Linked DNA regions of Homo sapiens: region 1 is linked to region 2. The links are contacts of gene promoters, found by promoter capture Hi-C in blood cells and fetal thymus (Javierre and others, 2016). All regions are on one chromosome and are shown on one strand. The core of a region is centred on a gene start or on the middle of the fragment in contact, and the rest is flanking DNA. Distances in the headings are between cores, read along the strand shown.

Region 1 (4,363 bases), core at 471-2,970, 140 kb after region 2:
AGGTTTATGTTTTTAATGTGTCTTATTTCTTACTTTTCTTGGCTTTTTCTACTTTGATTCCAGAGATAGCAGGTTCTCTCTTATACATTCATCATTCTCTTCCTTTCTTCCCTTTCTCCCTTCTACTCTTTCCCCATTCAAACCTGGTGTGGGATCTATACAACAATCTGTATTATTAATTTTGACAAGAACTCACAATTCACTTGTCTTATAAAAACTAGGTTTTCATTTCAGTTTATCCTTTTCAAGCTTGGTGAGGTGATTTGGGATAGACAATGAAAATATCTGCATTAATGGGGTTTTATATATATCGGAAGCTGTCACCTTTAGGTCTGGAGAATCTTGGGTTTAAAAAAATAATTCTTCTGAGAGAAATGTCCAGGGAGTTACTGAGTATTAAGGCTTTACTAGCTAAGTAGAATAGATTGCTTTTTGGCCTTGGGGTGAAATGATAACCCAGTCAGTCACTGGTAGTCTCATACTGATTGGCAGTTAAATATATCCCTTATTTATTTATTTTTTTAAGAGGGGAAGGAAACAATTATAATGTAACGTGGGATCCAGTAAGAGAAAATAATGGTTCTTGCTGGTGAAAAGATTGAGTACTAAATTTGTTTTTATTTATAGTATATGAAATAAACACATATAATTTATTGTGTGTATTTGTGCATAGGATTGTATTCGTGTGAATATGTGTGTATATGTATGTGGGAGACGTACACACATATATATATGAAGAGTCAATGTATTTGTTTTTATTTGGTTCCTTAAACAAATAGATCTATGATAATGTTGATTCTTGGTTCATGAATTCCTGTCTATAATCTTTCTCTATAACCGAAACATTTTAGAGCTATAGTGTTACTGTTTTATTGTTATTGTTTTATGTATAGCTTTTGCATCTGCCAAAATAATAAACTTCCATGCTTAAGTAAAATTGTAAATTTGAAATATTTTTCTGATTAATTTTAGACCCCAGTTATTAAAGCTTTTGGCATCTTGAAGCGAGCGGCCGCTGAAGTAAACCAGGATTATGGTCTTGATCCAAAGATTGCTAATGCAATAATGAAGGCAGCAGATGAGGTAGGAGGTGATAAGTGTGTTTGCTTAATAACCTCAGACCCATGCCATACTCTGGATGACGATATGCTCTGGCAGAAGGAAAGGGGAACTGTGAATTCTTGAATTAATGAATTTCAGGGGAGGGTGGTAGCATTATTTTTAGTGGTGATATTAATATGGTGCTTAAAACGTTACATTGTGACAAAATTTCTGGATGATTTTATACCTTTTGTTTTTAAGCCTTTTGACTTTCCTTAATTTATATAGTTTTAAGAAAATTTTTTGAAAAGATATCATTTGAACTTTACTTGATTTTTTATTTTATATATAAATCTTTTTAAAACCAGTTGATTATTTGATAATGCATATTGAGAATGTAATTTTACTAATATGCTAATAACATTGTCTTAAAGAAGCAATCAGAGGTAACAGAACTGTATATATAGTGTTGTTAATTACAGCACTATTTATAATAATGAAAACAAATTAGACAATGCGTAACTATAACAGCTACTTATATAAATTATATTTATATGGTAAATTATAGAAAATTACTTTTTTGAAGATTGGCATGCACAAAGCCTAGCCTATGAGAAATAGGGAGGAAAGTTTGCAAAAATATATGTATTTTACGATCCTAATTTTGTTTAGGAAAAAATGAACAGAAAGTGTGTGTTTCTCATATACACACACACACACACACACACACACACCCTCATTGCATGAGATAGAGACTGGGGATGCCAACATGCTAATAGTCATAATTACTGAGCAATAGAACTATAGTGACTGTTTTACTTTTCTCAGTTCTCAAAATTTTCTACACTAATCACATATTTTTATATAACCAGAAAAAAGTTTTATTTTAAAGTGGACCAGTTGTTCAAGGTAATAGATTTCTCAAGTGCATTCTGATTTTTTAAGCTAAAATCATTCCAGAAGATTGTTAACCACCCATATTTTACAAAGCACACCATCCAAAAACTAACACATAAGCTGGATGTATAAAAATACAACAAAAATAGGGGCAAATCTGGGCAGCGTTTATTTCTACATTTGGTGATTACTGCTCATTGGACATCTGTGCAATGAAGTAGCTATTAGTGAACTCACATTTTCAAGTTACTAGCTCATTAGCATGCTGACTCTGGCAATAACATCTGTTGGATATTCCTGCTGAGCACCAGCAACAAATATATCTAGAGACTAAACGTATTTGCCAGCCTTAACAGGTGGTCCTCTGTTAGAGGAGGCTGTGGGAGAGAGATAAGAAAGATACCTTTGATTCCCTTTTCATTTGAAACCAGTGAATTGTCATACCATTCACTATAGATAATATTTCACTTTTTAAAGTATCTGTGGTTGGAGCAAGTGATGCTTCAGAAGCTTAGATATGTGGGTCAACTGTATTCAAACTCTGTGGCATAATCAGCATTATTATTTCCTTTTTTAAAATACATTTTTAACATTTTTTCTGCAGGTAGCTGAAGGTAAATTAAATGATCATTTTCCTCTCGTGGTATGGCAGACTGGATCAGGAACTCAGACAAATATGAATGTAAATGAAGTCATTAGCAATAGAGCAATTGAAATGTTAGGAGGTGAACTTGGCAGCAAGATACCTGTGCATCCCAACGATCATGTTAATAAAAGCCAGGTCAGTATGTGAGCTTTGCTGTTTTTTGGTTATAAATTGAAAAGCATACCTGAGATTGTTCTTGTAAAACAAGCATTCACTTTTTGACAAGAAGTGTTCATTATTTAATGGATAAGGCTTCTTATGGTTCTTATTTCTTGAAGGAATCTTGGTTTTATGTTTCAATCCTTATAAAAATTATTTTTAGGACACCTGAATTTAGTGTATGTATTTTTTTATTGTTTAAAACTCTATTTTGAAATAATTTTAGATTTATAAGAGAATTGCAAAGATAGTTCAAATAGTTTCTATATCCCTTCACTCAGCTTCCCTTATTGTTAACATCTTATGTAACCATGGTACATTTATCAAAACTAAGAAATTAACATAGATACAGTACTCTTAGCTAAACAACAGACTTTAAAAAAAAAACAAAAAACTGAGGCTTTCCTCAGTTTTTCCACTCATGTTCTTTTTCAGGATCCAATCAATGCTATACATTACATTTAGTCACATGTCCCCTTGGTTTCTTCTAATCTGTGACAGTTTCTTGGTCTTTTGCGATTGTCTCAGTCCTTTGGGGCTGCAGTAATAAAATACAATAGACTGACTGGCTTATAAACAATAGAAGAAGTTAATTTGTCACAGTTCTGGCAGCTAGAAGTCCGAGGTCAGGCCACTGGCCAATTCATTGGCTTGGTGGGGGCCCACTTTTTGGTTTGTAGATGGCCATCTTTTCTGTGTCCTCACATGGTAGAAGGGACAAGGGAGCTCTCTGGGGTCTCTTCGTAAGGACACTAATTCCGTTCATGAGAGCTTTGCCCTATGAACTAATCACCTTGCAAAGGCCGCATCTCCTAATACTATTACCCTAGGGGTTAGGATTTCACATAGCAGTGACCTTGACACTTTGAAAGCAGTGGTCAGGTATTTTGTAGAATGTCCCTCAATTCTGGTGTGTCTGACGTTTTCTCATTAGATTGAGACTTTTGAATTTTTGAGAAAACTATCACAGAAATAAAGGGCCCTTCTCATTGCATCATATCAGGGGTTCATGATAGCAACATGACTTTTACTGGTGATGTTAACCTTAATCACTTGGTTAAGCTGGTACTTGCCAGGTTTCTCCATGGTAAAATTATAATTTTTCCTCTTCTATACCCTGTTCATTAGAAATAGGTCACTAAACCCTGCCTGCATTCCAGGCACTGTATTTCAGTTTCTAGAGGGAGGAGTATCAAAAAGTTTTTGGGCTTACATTAAAATCACTGTAGTAATTAATAGCGCGCTACCTTGAGGCTAGGCAAACATCTTCTTTTTCCTTAAACTTTTTCCTACTATTTTTAGCATTCATCAGGGAATCTTATCTACAGCAATTACTTCCATGGTGTTTTAATAGTGATTTTCAGTTTTCTTTATTCATTCTACACTTGTTAGTTGAATTTTTCTGCAAGGAAGATTTGTTCTCTCTGTCCCATTTATTTATTTATTCAGTTATTTGGGTATATCAGTATGGACTGATGGTTATTTATTTTATTCTTCAGGTTATGATCCCATACTTTTGTTTATATTGTTGCTTAAATTCTTTCAGCTCTGGGAACCCAATTCATTTGGCTCTTGTGTCCTTTTAGGCATGCCACCATCCTTTTACTTTTCTGAAGTGTG
Region 2 (4,321 bases), core at 303-2,802:
TGGCTCACACCTGTAATCCCAGCACTTTGGGAGGCCATGGCAGGTGGATCACCTGAGGTCAAGAGTTCAAGACCAGCCTGGCCAACATGGTGAAACCCCGTCTCTACTAAAAATACAAAAAATTAGCCGGGTGTGGTGGTGGGTGCCTGTAATCCCAGCTACTTGGGAGGCTGAGGCAGGAGAATCACTTGAACCTGGGAGGCAGAGGTTGCAGAGAGCCGAGATCGCACCATTTCACTCCAGCCTGGGCAATAGGAATGAAACTCCGTCTCAGAAAAAAAAAAAAAAAGAAAAGAAAAGAAAAGAATTTGGGTAACTTGGGCAAATGATTTATCTTCAGCTCCCATTTTTTCCACAAATAAAATGAACATAATGACATTGATTAACATGACTATAAATTATTAAATACTATTCAATTAATACCAGCTTGGGTTTGAACACCCAAAGTCAAGATTTTCACTTACAAATTACTATGCAGCCTGGCACACTCAGAGGCTGGCTATACTATCCCTTTAGCAATTATATGGGCTCTGCTCCTTTCATTGCAACAGCAGGGTTTGTTCTGTTAGTCTTTCACTCTGCCATGTAGCTTTATTTTTCACAGCTGTCCTCAATACGCCAAAGCTGTACACTACACCACTCCCCTTGAATCTTGTCTATGCACTGGCATCTCTGCTGCAAATCCTCCTGTAAGACCACTGTCCACCATATTCTCCTTAGCTTGCATCCTCAAGATCATTCCTGCCTAGAGATATGGAGAGTGGCCAAGACAATGGAATCATGGTGAGGCAGGAAGCTGCACTTCTTATGAAAGTCTTTATGGTCTCATGATATCTTTAGGCTAAGAAAAAGCAGTGCTATACATTACTGAGCATCCCAGGTCAACCAGTGAGCCATCAAATGGCAGCGTCTACAGAAGAACACTGGACGTCATTTAATCCAATCCCATAGTTTTACAATTGAAGCAACTTCGGTTCAGAGAAGTAAAAAAAAAAAACAAAAACAAAAACAAAACAAAACAAAAGCTTCCTCATGTCCGCTTTGTTATTTAGGGACAGAGAAAGAACAAGAACTGAGGTCTTCATCCCCTTTCAGCACCCATTCTTTCACATTAAGCTCTGATGCTTCTCTCTGATGGCTTAAAACATTTTCCAGTTCTAACCAACAGACCCAATTGGACTATCGTGTAATCACTGATCTTACCTTCTTTATGGATAAATAAGCCTGCTCTTTCATCTCTTTTCTGGGCTGCTGTTTGTTCAACCAATTTTTCAAACCTGTTCAAAGCCTTTTTGAAATTGCTCATCTGAAGTGCCATGTTGAGACGCTTTTCCTTCCTGATATCCATAGGGACATAGGGGATCTTTTACTTCTGTACAGAAAGAATACTGCAAGTTTACCAATTTGGAAAACTTTCCAGTTGTTACAGTGCCTCCCTGCTGTCTCAGTTTTTGCCCTAGGTCTAATTCCTTTGATCTTAAAATCCCATAGTGCGGGTAGGAGTAAGAGTTGCCACTAGGATGTTAGCAGGGAGGAAAGCTGATTTAGGTCTGATGCATTTCATACAGACAAACATTTCAGTAAAAATCCTGACCTCACAATGTCATCAGTGTCCTTCATAGGGTCCTCATTGCATCATAATATCTCTGTAACATCCTACTTCCTTCATAAGGAGGAGATTGAGATATTTTTTTCCCCACAGACTGTGTGTGTGTGTGCGCGTGCACATGTGTGTGTTGTGTATACTGCTTGAGAGGGAAAAGGAATGAGTAAATAACAAGTAAGAAAACTGGGTAATACTTTCTCCCTCGTGTATCTCTTCTCACCTCAAACCTTTTGCCTTCCTCACAATACCGCGGAAAGTAAAGTTTGGCCAGGCACGGCGGCTCATTCTTGTAATCCCAGCACTTTGGGAGGCCGAGGTGGGTGGACCACCTGAGGTCAGGAGTTCAAGACCAGCCTGGCCAACATGGTGAAACCCCCGTCTCTACTAAAAATACAAAAATTAGCTGGATGTGGTGGCGGGCACCTGTGATCTCAGCTACTCAGGAGGCTGAGGCAAGAGAATCACTTGAACCTGGGAGTCAGAGGTTACAGTGAGTTGAGATCACACCACTGCACTCCAACCTGGGTGACAGAGTGAGACTTCCTCTCAAAAAAAAAAAAAAGTAATATTCACACTTATTCTTGCCACTGTACTGGATATGGAAATTCGAACTTCTAAAGATGAAATGTATTTCAGCACCTGTCATTTCTACCACAAACATTTTTAGAGGTCATAGGGAATACAAATGCTCTTCTTCCTTTGTGCATTGTCCTTCGATTGAAATAATAAAGTGAGCCAAGGATAAGGAAGGAGTGGCTTCTGATTATGAGGACAGCTTTTCAAGGTAAGAGGTCAGATGAATTAGAAGAGGCCTTTCTGCACATCTCCTTCCCAGTCATTGCAATCTCCAATCCGACTTAGTCCAAATGCTATTGACTCCGGTTTTCCAATTTTCAACTTTTTATGGGAAGGAGAAGTTGTTTAATGTTTCTCAACAATTAGTTAACTTCCTATGGCTTAGGTGAGTTAGATAAATTTCCTACCCCTTGGTAGTCCATCTTTTAAAACATTCTTCAAGAACTTGCATTCAGAGATGAAGCAGATGGCATTTCAGAGCACCTCCAATTCCAGTACTGTCTTCTTGGTGTCCACCTCTAACTATCTGTTAGGAGAGCGCAGTAAGATTTTATTTAAAGAAAAATCCCCCAACCCCATTTGTTTCTCCTCCTTTTTCCTTTAAAGCTTTCAAACCACTGTACAGTGATGTCTGGAGAACCACTCTTCCTACAATTCTAATGCATTCACCATTAATTCATCTAGGAAATATTTACTGAATACACACTTCATGCTAGAGGCTGTTTTAGACACTAAGGATACAGCAGTGAATAAAATAGCTTCTCAAGTTTATAGACTAATGCAGAAGACAGACAAACAAATAAATAATGTATCAGTGAGCAATTGTGCTACGAAGAGAGAGGAATTTTGTGTGTATTAGGGTGGGGGTAAAAATCAAAGTAAAAGAGGTAGGGAGATCAGGGAATTCCCCATTAATAGAAAGATTTCTGGGCAGAAACCTGAAAGAAGTGAGGTAGCAAGTCATGTGGATAAATGGTAGAAGGATGTTCTAGGGACAGCAGGCGTAAAGTCCTGAGATTGGTGTGTGCTTCACATATCTGAGAAACGACAGAGGCCAGTGTGACTGAGGTGGTGTGGGATGAGAGAGAGAGGTAGAGAGAGAAGGCAAGAGAGTCAGGGGGTGGCATCCAGATCACGTAGGATCTTATTGGCTGTTTTAGGACTTTGGCTTTTACTCTGAGATGGGATGTTTTTGAGCAGAACAGTGACATGATCTGACGTGCATTTGAAAAGAATCATTCCAGCTGCTTTGCGGAGAATAAACTGAAAGGGAGAGAGGGTAGAAGCCGGGAAGGCAGTTAAGTGGAAATTTCAGTAATGCAAGTAAGAGATGACAGTGGTTGAGATTAGGGCACTAGTGACGGAGGTTGTGCGAAGTGGTCAGATTGTGTGAAGGTAGATGTGACAGGTGTGCTAATAGATCAGATGGGGGTATGAGAGCAAGAGAAGGATCAGGGACAACTCCAGGGATCCTGGCCCTAAGAAATCAAAAGGATGGAATTATAATTTCCTATGTTTGGGAGGGAGGAATCCAATAGAAGGAGCAGATTGTGGGGAGTGGGGGAAATTAGGATTCAGTTCAGGATATGTTAAGTTTGAGAATTCTATTAGATAAACAATTGTGGATGTTGAATAACCAGACGTAAGAATCCAGGGTTCAGGGGAGAGCTTGGGAGTCATCAGCATTCAGACGGCATTGTATTTAAAGCCATTAGGCTGGATGAGATCACCTGGGAATCAATGCAGATAAAGAAGAAGGCAAGGTGAGGATCAAACCCTGAGCATGCCAGTGTTGGGAGGGCAGAGTGATCAAGAAGAACCACTGAGTAAATAGGAGTGGCTAGTGAGGTACAAGGAGAACCAAGAGAAAGGATCATCCTAGAAGCCAAGAAGAAAAGCTGTTTTGAAAAGGAAAGAGCCACTGGATGGATAATCCAGTTTATTCAATAAAGAAATTGCATAGGAAGACAAAAGGAAGGAGGAGGGGAGCTATAGATTAAAAAGGACTTTAAAGAAACACCATCCAACCACAGTGTGTGGACTGTATTTAGATCTTGACTCAACAACCAAACTTAAAAAGAGTTTAAAATACATGAGACAATTGGAAATTGGAACGCCAAGTAGATATTTGATGATAAT

What was found. The method cuts DNA at HindIII sites, captures the fragments that hold promoters and counts their contacts. A CHiCAGO score of 5 or more calls a contact.
Region 1: a contact is called between a fragment that was not itself captured here and the fragment with the promoter of WDR64 in region 2, in 4 of 17 cell types (monocytes, activated CD4 T cells, naive CD4 T cells and 1 more). The highest score is 6.5, in monocytes.

Annotation. Positions count from the first base shown.
Region 1 is chr1:241,510,323-241,514,685 of GRCh38, reverse strand. FH (fumarate hydratase) reads left to right here. Exons shown (of 10, transcript NM_000143.4): 3 at 973-1,083; 4 at 2,543-2,719. Among named protein-coding and RNA genes, the nearest start is that of FH, 7.3 kb to the left of the region's middle. The HindIII fragment of the contact is 1,460 bases long and covers 991-2,450 here.
Region 2 is chr1:241,649,512-241,653,832 of GRCh38, reverse strand. WDR64 (WD repeat domain 64) reads right to left here and starts at 1,552. Exons shown (of 28, transcript NM_001367482.1): 1 at 1,204-1,552. The coding sequence starts at 1,348. The HindIII fragment of the contact is 1,763 bases long and covers 1,028-2,790 here.